Linked DNA regions of Homo sapiens: all the other regions are linked to region 3. Evidence: promoter capture Hi-C in 16 types of primary human blood cells and fetal thymus (Javierre and others, 2016). All regions are on one chromosome and are shown on one strand. The core of a region is centred on a gene start or on the middle of the fragment in contact, and the rest is flanking DNA. Distances in the headings are between cores, read along the strand shown. Region 1 overlaps SPTSSA (serine palmitoyltransferase small subunit A). Region 2 holds the start of CFL2 (cofilin 2). Region 3 holds the start of RALGAPA1 (Ral GTPase activating protein catalytic subunit alpha 1). Region 4 holds the start of SNX6 (sorting nexin 6). Region 5 holds the start of EAPP (E2F associated phosphoprotein).

Region 1 (2,700 bases), core at 145-2,644, 1.4 Mb before region 3:
GAACTTTGGGAGGCCAAGGTGGGTGGGTCACCTGAGGTCAGGAGTTCGAGACCAGGCTGGCCAACATAGTAAATCCCCTTCTCTACTAAAAATACAAAAATCAGCCGGGTGTGGTGGCAGGCACCTGTAATCCCAGCTACTCGTGAGGCTGAGGCAGGAGAATTGCTTGAACCCAGGAGGCGGAGGCTACAGTGACCCAAGATTGCGCCACTGCACTCCAGCCTAGGTAACAGATCAAGACTCCATCTTGAGAAAAAAAAAAAATAGGAGCCGGGCTAGGTGGCTCACACCTGTAATCCCAGCATTTTGGGAGGCCGAGGTGGGCGGATCACGAGGTTGGGAGTTTGAGACCACCCTGGCTAACATGGTGAAACCCCATCTCTACTAAAAATACAAAAAATCAACAGGGTATGGCGGCGGGCACCTGTAATCCCAGCTACTGGGGAGGCTGATGCAAGAGAATCGCTTGCAACCAGAAGGCAAAGGTTGCAAGGAGCCAAGTTCGCACCACTGCACTCTAGCCTGAGGAAAAGAGCGAAACTGTCTCAAAAAAAGAAAAAAAAAAGGAGTATATTTTTTATATATTCACAGAATATCTCAGGAGAGATGCATAGGAAACTGCTGACACTGGTTGTCCCAGGGTGGCCGAGGCAGGGGTGGAAGGAAGACTGTGTCACCAACTACCTTTTTGTATCTTTTGTGTTTTCAACCATAAGGATGTATAATCTATTTTATTTACAACTTAAAATTCATATTTTCCAAACTCCCAAATACTTTAATTAGTATATTGAGATGCAAAAAAAGTCCTTTTAGGCCAGGCGCGGTGGCTCACACCTGTAATCCCAGCACTTTGGGAAGCTGAGGGGAGAGGATCACGTGAGGTCAGGAGTTCAAGAACAGCCTGGCCAACATGGTGAAACCCCGTCTCCACTAAAAATACAAAAATTACCTGGGCATGGTGGCGTGCAACTGTAATCCTAGCTATTCAGGAGGCTGAGGAATGAGGATTGCTTGAACCCAGGAGGCAGAGGTTGCAGTGAGCTGAGATCATGCCAGTGTACTCCAGCCTGGGCAACAGAACAAGACTCCATCTCAAAAAAAAAAAGTCCTTTTTAATTCTAAGTTGTAAGTATCTGAGGATACAGCAAAAATCTAAGAAAATAATTTAGTTGCTACTGAAAATAACATACAGCTTAAAATGTGTGGCTGGGCGCGGTGGCTCACACCTATAATCCCAGCACTTTGGGAGGCGGAGGCAGGCGGATCACGAGGTCAGGAGATCGAGACCATCCGGCTAACATGGTGAAACCCCGTCTCTACTAAAAAAACAAAAAATTAGCCAGGCGTGGTGGTGGGTGCCTGTTATCCCAGCTACTTGGGAGGCTGAGGCAGAAGTATCACTTGAACCCTGGAGGCAGAGATTGCAGTGAGCTGAGATCGCGTCATTGCACTCCAGCCTGGGCAACAAGTGCAAAACCCTATCTCAAAAAAATAATAAATCAATAAAATAAAATAACAAATCAATATATAAACAACTGTTTTTTAAGCATTATTTGTGTGCCCAGCACTGTGGTTTAAAAGTGGGAAAAAAATGTTTTCAAGACACATGAACTGTCTTTCAGGGTGAATCTAATTCCTAACATAAACCAAAAAACTGCCCACATTTTGCTGAAAATAACATGCCATGGAAACATCATCAGCAGCAAAGAGATGGGCAAATATAGCCCAGTGATTATAGACTAATATGACTTTATTTTTTAATGAATAAAACAAGATTAGGCCAGGCGCGGTAGCTCATGCCTGTAATCCCAGCACTTTGGGAGGCTGAGGCAGGCAGATCACCTGAGGACAGAAGTTCAAGACCAGCCTGGCCAACATGGTGAAATCTTGTCTCTACTAAAAAATATAAAAATTAGCCGGGCGTGGTGGCACACACCTGTAGTCCCAGCTACTCGGGAGGGCAAGGCGGAACAATTGCTTGAATCCAGGAGGCAGAGGTTGCAGCGAGCCAAGATCGCGCCACTGCACTCCAGCCTGGGCAACACAGCGAGACTCCATCTCAAAAAAAAAAAGAAAAGAAAAAAGATTAAAATAGCACACTTCTGATTCAAATTATTATTATTATTATTATTATTACTATTATTATTATTATTATTTTGAGACGGAGCATTTGCTCTGTTGCCCAGGCTGGAGTACAATGGCACAATCTTGGCTCACTGCAACCTCCACTTCTTAGGTTCAAGCAATTCTCCTGCCTCAGCCTCCCATGTAGCTGGGACTACAGGCGCCAGCCACCATGCCCCACTAATTTTTTATTTTTAGTAGAGACAAGAATTCACCATGCTGGCCGAGCTGGCCTTGAACTCTTGACCTCAGGTGATCCAGCCACCTCAGCCTCCCAAAGTTGATTCAAATTATTTTAACAATCTATTTTTAATTTTCTCAACTCTCAACAGGAATGGTTACAACGTTATCCAAGTGAGGTACTTCAGGGCGTGTCTCACTGTTACAAAAGCCTATCTTGGTTACAAAACCTGGTCTTTTCTTTCCCACCTTGGGATGCCAGTAGGGAAAGGATACTTTTGAAAGGTATGTTAAAAATGTCTCCTCCTGAGATAAGGTCAGTGGTTCTCAGTCTATGGTAGGTCTCCTTTTGTAGTATATACTGTAATACTAATTGGCACTTATCAGATTCTTCTT
Region 2 (2,700 bases), core at 29-2,528, 1.1 Mb before region 3:
AAGCATATCGGCAATCATTCAGAGGTAGCAACTTCACAAAAGATGTGTAGGGGTCCTCTACAGTATCACCAATGTCACCCACCAAGATCTGCTTTGCTTCCTCTACAATTATTTGTCTTTTGTCATCGCTTAAACAGAAGAGAACTGCTTTCTTTCTCTTTTTGATCTCCTCTTGTGTAGAAGATTTCCTTACTTTCATATCATTAAAAACTTTGATGACTTCATCATTCACTGTAACTCCAGAAGCCTGAAAATAAACACAGAACAGTAATTCAGAACACGTATTTTGGTTTTAACCAAAATTACTGTTTGCCTAGAGAAGACTCACTTTAGTCTGGACATCAAAAATTGCACCGTACCATGTAAGTCGTCCAATCAGATTTGTCACATTTTAAGAATCAGTAGACGATACAGCGAAGGAGTCTAACTCATCCTGCCCATTCATCCTTCTTAAAGGGGTTTGGACGTGGAAGCGAAAGGGACAAATACAAGTTGTCCCATCCCTGAAATGTTTCCTATTTCACTGGGTGATGTCAGAGCTTCAGGAGTGGCAGCAAAAATACCTTCTGTATTGTGTCAACTCGGCTGGCCTTAAAAAAACACTTTTGGATTTCAGTTAATGCTTCTACTATTTTTTTCTTTAAAGTCATCCTAGCCACTGACGTTTCCTCATAAGGAAAGAGAATCAAGTGTAAACTCCAAACCGCCCACGGCCCACACACAGCTCACATGCAGACACTCCAAAACTAACTGATCGAGTGTAAAAGCTTTTACGGCGAGAAAGCATTTTAAAAAGTGTTTTCCCTCTTCCTTAATCTCCCCGTAAGGGTTTTATTACAGGCCGTCCAGACCCTGACCCACACAGCGTTCGCAGCACGTACCAATTTTAAAGCCTCGCGTGTTAAGTAAAATTAGGAAGCGAAGGGCAAAGGCGGCGCGAGCGGCTGCAGTCCGCAGACCCTCTCGCGCCCCCGCCCGCCCGGCCCCGACCCCCAACCTGCGCCGACGCCCGGGCCCTCCCCGCCCCCCAAAATCCAAAGAGCAGCAGGGCAGGGCCTGACGGCCGGAGGGCAGGCCGGTCGGCTGGAGAGCAGCGGAGCCGCAGAGCAGAAGCGCCCACCTTGGAGGCCAAAATCAGGTTAAAATGGCGGCCTCACTCCCGGGGCCGTGCGGGGGGCTTTTCTCGCCTCGCCGCGGCCTCCCGGCCAGCGCGCTCGTCTTACCATAGTGCCCTCGGCTGTGGCTGCGGCGGCAGCTCGGGCTTCGGCTCTGTGGCACTGGGAGGAGAAGGAGGGGCGGGCGAGCGGGTGGGCAGCGGAGAGTGCGGGGCACGCCGGGAGCTGCAGCCCGAGGGAGGTGGCGGGGCTCGGCGGGCCGCAGGCAGCGGGCGGGGCGGTCACGTGGGCACGCCTGGTCCCCAGCCGGCGCCACCCGCTCCCAGGCCGGCCCTTCTGTCTCGCGGCCCCGGCTCCCCGGCTGTCCGCGTCCTCGGCCTGACCTCAGAGCGCGAGCCCTGCAGGCCGGGGGGGGCGACGCGGTGGTAGCGGAGCCCGGGAGCCTGGCAGAGCCGCCTCCAGCCCCCGAGCATCACCCGTCAAGCCGGTGGGAGAGAGTGCTGGGCTCCCAGAGGGGCGTTTCCACCGCCTCCGTAGGGCCCTGCGCCAGGGGTGGGTGCGTGTGAGGGGAACTCCTGCGAAGGTGTCTTTCCTTATTTACCTGTGGTTTTCCCGAAAGAGGCTGGATTTCGACATTTTGAGTCTTTTTGGAAAACCCCCAGTTGTTTAGAGATAAATGAGAATAAATACTACACGAGATTGCTCCAGTTGATAGTACTTAGCAAAAACAAAATGATACGCAGTGTTGGTAAATCACTTTTCAAAACTCTGGTTGAAATAATAATTATGATTAAAAAATTACGTGGTAGCATTCCTTAGTAATATCCTTTTACATTTTAGACTTCATAGGAAATGGATTGTACTCTCTCTTAGAGATTTCATGAAGCTCCAGCTATGACAGCTGATATCAAATAAGCCGACGCAGCCTCTTCTAGCAAAGCCCATATAACTGCGCCAAGGCAGTTTCTCTTTTTTTAATCTTAACTCCTCCATACCTCAGGGTTCTTCATGTGTAAAACAAACTGTTATTAAATTATCGTTAAGGCCCTTTCCAGCTTTAGATTTCAGTTTCTGAGTATATCAATGTTCAGTAGGAAATGGTGTGTTTTTGGTGGTCTCAGGATTGAGGTTAGGCAGGAAAGTCATGAGATGGTGTTTGCCCTAGATTGCGTGATAAGTTCTTTCAGCCCAAATTTACTGTATTTTAAATGGAACATGCTAGGCATTGAAACAGACCTATTTTTCTGTCTATATCTTGGGTTTGTTTTCTTAATTGGAAGATAGACTTCGTTTAGAGACAAAAATTGAGAAGGGATTTCCCAATGTCTAAGCATGAATCCCAAGCAAGTGGATAATACTTTATATCTAGCTGGTACATTACAATTTATGGAACCTTTCACTTTATCTGTTGAACTTCCAAGAAGTCATGGAGAATGTCTCTCCAGAGCTCTGATCATCTGCTATGTGTAGGTATTAGCAAATTCCTGTTCGCTTCATCTTGCGGTTACCTTCCCTTCCCAACCTCAGAGATTTGCAGCAGCCCCAGCAGAGACCAGGTCTGATGACACTGGGGCCTAAAGTGGGT
Region 3 (2,700 bases), core at 18-2,517:
TTCAAAAGAGTCGATTAACATTATATTCAAAACTTAGAGCACTGTTTGGTCTACCAGCAAAACAGAACTTAAGGGCAGACGATAAAAAAAATATTTTTAATTAAAAATAGAATTATATACAATTCTCGAGAAGCAAAGGATGAGTTAAACTACCTATAATAGTTCTCCCTCTAAATGACTAGTGATGAACAAGGTGCATTAACAAAAGGGCGGGGCTCCTTCCCACAGCTTTTTGGGAACCGCCCACTTCCCAAAGAGGTGTAACTGCTACCTCCTTGTCTTCATCTGCCAAGAAACTTGAAAGATTAAGGTTTATATTGTCTGAGAGAGGATTTTATTTTTCTTTTTACTTGGGTGGGGTTGGCAGTAGTCATCTGGCAAACATATCCTATAAACACCATTATCCACAACGCCAGGTCTCCCCACAAAGTCTTAAAGATCTAAGTTTTTAGAGTAATACCAATTTTAAAAAATAAGTTCAGACTATTAACTCAAAATTAGATTACTGTGTTAACAGTAATCAGTGCTGCCAACTGCCAAGTTTTCGCTTCTCCGAATTATTCACCCTCCCGCGTCTCCGCAGAGGCTACGATTTGCCCTCTCCTGCACCGCGCCAGGTCCCGAGAGAGAGTCCGCAGGGGCTCCCAGGAGAGGGAAGGCCGGGCAACCCAGGCCTCGGCGCTGCCACCCCTCGCTCCTCACCGATGACGATGCGCAGGTGCTTGAGGCGAGTCAGTGCGTCCTTCTTGGTGTCTAGCACCTTCTGGGTGGACTTCTTCACGTCCCCGTGCGGCTTCTTGGAGAACATCCTGTCGCTGCCACTGCCACTGCCACTGCCACAGCCGGCTCCCAGCCGGGTCCCGGCGGCAGAAAGTGGAGGGAGTGGACGGGGAGGAGACTAGCCAGAGAGGCTCATTAGCTCCCCAGCCTTGCGGGCCAGGGCAGAGCCGACTCCTTCCCGATCCAGGCCAGGGCCGCCACCTCCACCCGCCTCGCGCCGCGGCTCCAAGGCACCTTCGGCCCCAGCTCCAATATGGCGGATCCCTCTCCCGGCCCTGCACGGAGCGAGGCAGACCCGGGCTGGCCGCCTGCCGCCGCCGCTCGTCTCCAGCGGCCGCCGCTCGCCGCCACAGGCCGGGGCCCCGGACCCAGAGCCACGAAGGTGGAGCTCTCGGCGGCAGGAGCACAACTCTCTCCCTGAGGCCCCCTTAAGGTTGAAGCTTCTTTAGCAGCTTACACCCTGCAGAGGCCGAAACGGAGACGAGTGTGGTAGTGATGGGGTTTCACGACTCTGCCGTCGGTGGCGAACGGTGTCCGTGGCAACCGCCTTCTGACGTCAAGAGTTCTTGACGTCATGCCAGCATGAGATCACCCGTGGCACTCCCCGCCTTGGTTTCCTGTGTAAGCAGCCAAAGGAGAATCTCAAGAAAGGCAAGGAAGGTAGTTACTGCGTGCTCCATTGTAAGCCAAATGATAGTAATAAGCAAAGAGAAGTAATCTTTATTAAATATGTCCATGATTTATCTTTGAAAATGTGCATAAGTTGTTGTGGCCACCAGATCCTCTAGCAGAAAGATAAACGAAGTTACAGTTGGGCAATTTATTCTGTCCTAAATCTATTACTAATAATATTTCCTGCACTATGTATGTGATTTCTTTCATATTTTTTCTATTTGCAATATCCCTGTTTTTTGCTGCAAACAACTTGACAACAGAAAGGCTTAAGCAGAGGTATCTAGGTTTTTTAAATAAAAGTAATCTTGCTTTCCTTTTCTATTGTGCTTTTAAAAATCTTTTCCCCATCTGCACCCCACATAAAGATGAATATATTGTCAGTTTTTCCTCTGCAAAGAAGAATTCAAGGTTCTTATTACATTGATGGAGTCATCTGAAGAATCTGCAATAGCTGAAAAAAATCCGTGAAATTCTGAATGACATAAATTGAAATTTTTATTGGAACCCTTTTTTTTTTTTTCCTTTTTCCTTTTCTTTCCAGACAGGGTCTCTGTGTCCCAGGCAGAAGTGCAGTGGTGTGATCTCAGCTCACTGAAGCCTCGAACTCCCAGGCTCAGGTGATGCTCCCACCTCAGCCTACCGAGTAGCTGGGACCACAGGTGCGCGCCACCACATCCAGCTAATTTTTGTGTTTTTTGTAGAGACGGGGTTTCGCCATTTTGCCCAAACTGGTCTAAAACTCCTAGACTCAAGTGATCCGCCCGCCTCAGCCTACCAAACTGCTGGGATTACAGGCGTGAGGCCACTGCGCCTGGCCAGGAACATTTCCTCCACAAAATAATTTGATAAAGAGTGAGTTTGCTTGTTTGAACTGTTTCCTTCTATGTTCTCACCCATAGCAATAGACTTGTCCAATGAAATATGTGATTAACATAGAAAAATAACAAAATCAGCAAAGAAGAGAGATGTAAGACATTTGCCAAAATTATGTTAAAATATAGTGCTTTGCTTAATGGTAGTTTGTTTCAACAACAATCCTATATTTTTTAAAGTACAAAAAATTTATTCAGTTTCTACATGTAGGGTTTGTTTGTATCATCAAACTTACAAGCCATACATGTTTTGAGGAAGCTTATAACATAATAGAAAAATAAGGGGATTGTTCAAGAGATTTTAGTTCTAGTTCCTCTCAGCATCAGTTTTCTTATTAATAAAATCAAAATAAGGTCTGTCCCTCACAGTTTC
Region 4 (2,716 bases), core at 209-2,708, 1.2 Mb before region 3:
TCTGTTATTACAAACAGCAATAACATCCCACAATATTTTATCACCTACCAAATATGCACTAACAGATGTCTCTCTCACATTAAAACGGATAAGAAAAAGCAAAAGGGAAAACTGAAGTGCAGGCTGTGAAATGTGAAGGAACCATGGAACCTTGCTGAATGGTAATTATCATATATCAACATTTTCCAAGTGCTCACTTGTACAAGGGACTATAAAGATTACCACCCTTCAGCCAAGGAAAAAGGGGGTGGAGAGTGGGGTGGGAGGGAGGAATCAGAGCCCGGAAGGCTCTTTCTGAAGTAGAATGCAACTAACCTCAGAACACCAAGGGCAGAATGGAGGTTATCAAAGGCCTGGCGGAGTGTGTATGTGGGGGGTGAGTGGGTGGAGCGTCGATGTTGGTCAAAGGGTACATACTTGAAATTTGCTTAGATCTCAAATGTTCTCACACAAAAAAAAATGGTAACTAGGTGAGGTGATGGATATGTCAGGTTGATTTTGGTACTCATTTCACAATGTATTCGTGTATTAAAATATAATGTATACCTTAAGTATATACAATTATCAACAGTATTTGTCAATATACCTCAAAGAAGCTAAGGGGGAATAAAACACCAAGGAAATCCTGCCAAAGACAGGATTTGTTGGATATTAGAAAAAGTAAAGATACCATGGGCTACCTGCACTTTGCATAATCTAGTAGGGCACTGGACAGGAGTTGATTCGGCTACTATAAAAATCCTTGCAAAATGGTAATGTAGACTACACCTGTACTATTTGAGAGAGACAGAAGGGTGGGCGGGAGCAAGTTCGAGATGTCCACACCGGGTGAAAATTGAGGGTGCCGCTGGGAAGGTCCGAGAATGGGTTTTCATGGCCCCAAAGTGTCGAGGGAGGGTGGGGGCGTTCCATCTCCCGCCTCCATTTCCACTTCGCCACCTGCACCCCGCCCCGCGTGGGAGTGGAGGTCCACCAGAAGGCCCGAACAGCGGCGGGGGACAAGAAAGCGGCCGCGGGTCCCCGGGAATCGGAGCCGAGCGGCCCCTAGGGAGGAAGGGCTGCGGGAGGGTGGGGCGCGGTGCAGCGAGGAAACCGAAAGGAGGACTACGGGGAGGGAGTGCCGCGCGGCTGGGGACCCATCCCCGTACCACACCCGGGGACCCAGGATGGGGAAGGAGGGTCCAGGGTCCCGCGAGCGAAAGGAAGGCAGAACTTACTCCGCGGTCCTCTTCTGAGAGGAAGTCCGGGCCGTCGTCCAGGCCTTCCTGTGGGGTCGGCGGGCACGGCGCGCCGGGGAAAAGGATGAGATGGGGGAGACACAAAGGGAGACATTAGTGACAGGCTGGCGCGGTCCCCGCGCCCGCCCCGCGCCCGCTGCCCCCACCGCGCTCCCGGGACTCGGCGCCGCGGAGAACACCCACCATCATGGCTGCTCCGAGGCGAGGGCCGGCGCAGGCGCGCATCTCCCTGCTGCCGGAGGGAGCCGGCGGCCAGGAGCGGGGCGGGGCGGGGCGGAGGCGAAGGGGCGGGGCCTAAGGACGGCCCGCCCCGTCCCCGGCGCTGGTCGCTCGAGTCCGTGAGCGAGGAAGGTTAACAGGGCCTTCTGCCCAAGGTCAAGGCACCGAAGTCGGGAGAGCCTGAAGACCCAGACCTCATGGCTGGGGGCACCTCGCAGCTGGCGGGCTCTGACCAGGGAAGGGCCAAAGGCCACCCAGGGAGCTCTCCAGTTCCCCTGCCCCGAGGGCTCCAGCGAAAAACGATGCAGGCGCCCTCCGGAAGCCATAATACATCATCTGGTCTTTGTATTATGCCACACGATAATTAATCACAATTAATATCATTTTGCCTATGGAAGTTGCTGGAAACAAGGACCTTCACACAGTCGGTAATCAGGGACTATAATCAAGCTTTTACCGCTGGCGAGGTAATAACTACCTCAGAGTTTGGGGCACTAATGGTTGCGAACTATAAAAATGAGCTGTTTTCATTACAAAAATATTCCTTTCCTTTGTTAGAAGAAATTTCCCCACACCTACTCTAACTGTCCAGGTGGTTAGCATCACACGGGATCCACAGGCATTTCAAATAACGGGAGAAAATCATACTTAATCCTAGAATCTACACGTTCCTGAGCTTGCATTCAGTTAAGGAAAGGCATCTTCAGATGTTCAGACCAGAAACCCTTAACCCATTGAAATCCGTACTCTAGGGGCCGGGCGCTGTGGCTCACGTCTCTAATTCCAGCACTTTGGGAGGCCAAGGCGGGCGGATCACCTGAGGTCAGGAGTTTGAGACCATCCTGGCTAACATGGTGAAACCCCGTCTCTACTAAAAATACAAAAATTAGCCGGGCGTGGTGGCGCGTGCCTGTAATCTCAGCTACTTGGGAGGCTGAAGCAAAAGAATCGCTTGAACCTGGAAGGCAGAGGTTGCAGTGAGCCGAGATTGCACCACTGCACTCCAGCCTGGGCAACAGAGCAAGACTCTGTCTCAAAAAAAGAAAGAAATAAATCCTTATCTCCCTTACTCCTCATATCCAACCAAATCCTATGGCTTCTACAATTGATTGTCCTTCATACCTCTTTTTTTTTTTTTTTTGAGACAGAGTCTCGCTCTGTCGCCCAGGCTGGAGTGCAGTGGTGCGATCTCGGCTCACTGTAAGCTCCACCTCCAGGGTTCACGCCATTCTCCTGCCTCAGCCTCCCGAGTAGCTGGG
Region 5 (2,700 bases), core at 104-2,603, 1.3 Mb before region 3:
GCTGGAGTGCAATGGTGCCATCTTGGCTCACTGAAACTTCCGCCTCCCAGGCTCAAGCCAACCAACCGCCTCACCCTCCTGAGTAGCTGGGACCACAGATATGCACCACCATACCAGCTAATTTTTTGTATTTTCAGTAAAGACATGATTTCATCATGTTGCTCAGGCTGGTCTTGAACTCTTGAGCTCAAGTGATTCTCCTGCCTTGGCCTTCCAAAGTGCTGGGATTACAGATGTGAGCCACTGCACCAGACCTGTATTATTTCTTATAACTGAATGTGAATCTACGAAAACTTCAAAATAAAATGTTTAATTTTTAAAAACTGAATCACAAAGTGAGAGCTATTTTTTCTACAAATTTTCTTCAATCCTTGTCATTATCTCAACCAAAGTCTCAGTTTTCAGCACTGCTGAGAAAGGCAGTCATACATCATGGACCCTAGATATGCAAGTTAAGTATGCCAAGAATGCAAGGTTCTGACCACTGTTCACTCCAGCCATTTCTCAGGATTGTGTTTGCAGCGAACAACAACCTTGAGGAATGAGATAATGTCTCCTTCCAGGACAAAGAGCAGATGTATTTACTGTCTTCTATGAAAGAGGTGGATTCTCCAAGCTCAAGTAGTCTTTAGCCACGATGCCAACCCACTGAATGTGCAGCATTCTTCTAGGACCCTCAGCGTAATACCTGTAGGGTTGACAAGCAAGAGCAAGCCACACAAACATGATGCTCATGCTGCTTGCTGTGCTATGTGTAGTCTTATCTTTGACCCAGGAGTCTCATGTCTTCGGTCAGCTACCGTGAAACAGTTAACAGGCTACAATGTATTAGTTTATAAACAGTGTAAAATTAAATACTGACAGACACCTCTCTAACACTAATCTCCCTTTTTAAAATAATAACCATTTGGCTCAGAGCCTACAACAGGCAATACTGTCTGATAACATTGTTTTGTTTTTATAATATTTATCTTTACAGTTACCTTACCAGTGGCAACTGTCACAGAATTATAAAGCTTCCTTAAAAAAATGATACAACAGTCCTGGCTCCGTGGCTCAGGCCTGTAATCCTAGCACTTTGGGAGCCCGACGCAGGCAGATTGCCTAAGGTCAGGAGTTCAAGACCAGCCTGGCCAACGTGGTGAAAACCCATCTCTACGAAAAATACAAAAAATAAGCCAGGTGTGGTAGCGCATGCCTGTAATCCCAGCTACCCAGGAGGCTGAGGCAGGAGAATTGCTGGAACCCAGGAGGTGGAGGCTACAGTGAGCCAAGATTGCACCAGTGCACTCCAGCCTGGCTGACAGAGTGAGACTCTGTCTCAAAATAAATAAATAAATAAATAAATAATTGAGACATACATATATACATACCTCCTTTCACAGACAGGACCCATTAACTGAAACTCTTTTTCACAGGGAATCCTGGTATCTATCCTCACTCCCAACAAAAGAAATCTTAACAGCAGTCTGATTTCCCATGCATCCAATGTCTCCCCATGACAATATGAGGAAACATTGTTCTTTTGATTTTTTTTTTTTTTAAGAAATGAGGTCTCACTATGTTGCCCAGGCTGTTCCTTTACTACCAGGCTTAAGAGATTCTCTCGCCTCAGACTCCCAAAGTCCTGGGATTACAGGCATGGGCCACCACACCCAGCCAAAGTTGTTAATGAAAGCATGGCTTTACAGAAAGCTTCTTTAGGCAGAATGAATGTTTTAAAGTTTAAGAATAGGATCTGCTGACAGCTTAAGAAATAACTAAATTTGTGTGGAAATATCTCGGCAAAACAGCTTCAAGTTTCCCTGGTAGAATAAAGCCCACCCTTCTGGAAATCCCACGAACCTTCTTCTGTGCCTATCTCAGGTCAATATTCTCTACAATGCTCTGCCAAGAAATATATACTTTATCTTATTACCCTTATTATACTATAAGCCTCTGGAAGACAAGGACCTTATGATTTATCTCTGTAGCTCAGAGCGAGCATACAACAGTCCCTGTCAAAAAATAAAAATAAAAAAGGCTGTTCAATATTCCCTTATTTCTGTTTATGGCAGTTTAGTCTTCAAGATGGACACTTCACATTAAGTCCTGTGAGCCTCACAACAAACATAGTGTGTTATACTATGTTATATAGGTTATACAATTATGTTATTATAGTTCAATTTTACAGGTGAGTAATCGAGGATAACTGACTTGCCTTCCGTCACTCTGCTACTAAGGTGTAGAGACAGGTTTCGATCTCATTGCTTTTGAAGATTTACACGCGGTCCCCCGTGATTCCGGAATATCCCTCTTCCTACAGGCGACATCGGCACCGCCTCCCCCCGGGACTGCGCGACCCCATCAGGAAAGCCCTTTGGCTTCGCACAAGTAACAGGCACGACAGGCTCCCGAGCCGCTAGGGTCTGCGTAGGCTCGGCAGGCGCAACGAATGGAGGCGACCAAAGCCAGGCCTCGACCCAAATCCTCGGGGGCCAGGGTGGGGCGGGAGCCCACCTGCTCAAAGCCGGCTCCTCGTCGCTAGGCTCTTCAACCGCGTAGGGGTCGTAGTCATCCGGAAGCCGGTTCATGGTGGCCTGCAGCGGCCTACACCGTCCACAAGCAATTTGCAGCGTCTCTGTTTACACTGCAAGTCCAGTCCCTAAAGCGCCCCTGACGCCACTTCCGCCTGAACGTCCCAGTCCCCCTTGCGCGCCC

Evidence for each region. Contacts are between HindIII fragments. The CHiCAGO score rates a contact against its expected background, and 5 or more counts as called.
Region 1: a contact is called between a fragment that was not itself captured here and the fragment with the promoter of RALGAPA1 in region 3, in 1 of 17 cell types (total B cells). The highest score is 5.3, in total B cells.
Region 2: the fragment with the promoter of CFL2 here is called in contact with the fragment with the promoter of RALGAPA1 in region 3 in 6 of 17 cell types (total B cells, total CD8 T cells, fetal thymus and 3 more); the score reaches 9.8 in total B cells.
Region 4: the fragment with the promoter of SNX6 here is called in contact with the fragment with the promoter of RALGAPA1 in region 3 in 9 of 17 cell types (naive B cells, naive CD8 T cells, total CD8 T cells and 6 more); the score reaches 16.9 in naive B cells.
Region 5: a contact is called between a fragment that was not itself captured here and the fragment with the promoter of RALGAPA1 in region 3, in 8 of 17 cell types (naive CD4 T cells, fetal thymus, total B cells and 5 more). The highest score is 13.7, in naive CD4 T cells.

Annotation. Positions count from the first base shown.
Region 1 is chr14:34,454,838-34,457,537 of GRCh38, forward strand. All of the region lies in intron 1 of SPTSSA (serine palmitoyltransferase small subunit A), which reads right to left. Among named protein-coding and RNA genes, the nearest start is that of SPTSSA, 6.1 kb to the right of the region's middle. The HindIII fragment of the contact is 7,519 bases long and covers 1-2,700 here.
Region 2 is chr14:34,713,315-34,716,014 of GRCh38, forward strand. CFL2 (cofilin 2) reads right to left here and starts at 1,279. Exons shown (of 4, transcript NM_138638.5): 1 at 1,224-1,279; 2 at 1-247. The coding sequence starts at 1,226. RefSeq lists silencers at 976-1,035, 1,126-1,715. The HindIII fragment of the contact is 2,283 bases long and covers 766-2,700 here.
Region 3 is chr14:35,808,028-35,810,727 of GRCh38, forward strand. It overlaps RALGAPA1 (Ral GTPase activating protein catalytic subunit alpha 1), which reads right to left and starts at 1,268. Exons shown (of 42, transcript NM_001346249.2): 1 at 703-1,268. The coding sequence starts at 808. RefSeq lists enhancers at 918-1,478, 1,315-1,414 and a silencer at 995-1,234. The HindIII fragment of the contact is 1,366 bases long and covers 1,219-2,584 here.
Region 4 is chr14:34,628,690-34,631,405 of GRCh38, forward strand. SNX6 (sorting nexin 6) reads right to left here and starts at 1,459. Exons shown (of 14, transcript NM_152233.4): 1 at 1,422-1,459; 2 at 1,218-1,265. The coding sequence starts at 1,427. RefSeq lists a silencer at 1,213-1,562 and an enhancer at 1,733-1,782. The HindIII fragment of the contact is 3,459 bases long and covers 1-1,905 here.
Region 5 is chr14:34,537,056-34,539,755 of GRCh38, forward strand. EAPP (E2F associated phosphoprotein) reads right to left here and starts at 2,646. Exons shown (of 6, transcript NM_018453.4): 1 at 2,500-2,646. The coding sequence starts at 2,573. LOC105370447 (a long non-coding RNA gene) reads left to right here and starts at 2,694. Exons shown (of 2, transcript XR_943739.1): 1 at 2,694-2,700. RefSeq lists a silencer at 488-782 and enhancers at 1,849-2,700, 2,424-2,583. The HindIII fragment of the contact is 679 bases long and covers 1,015-1,693 here.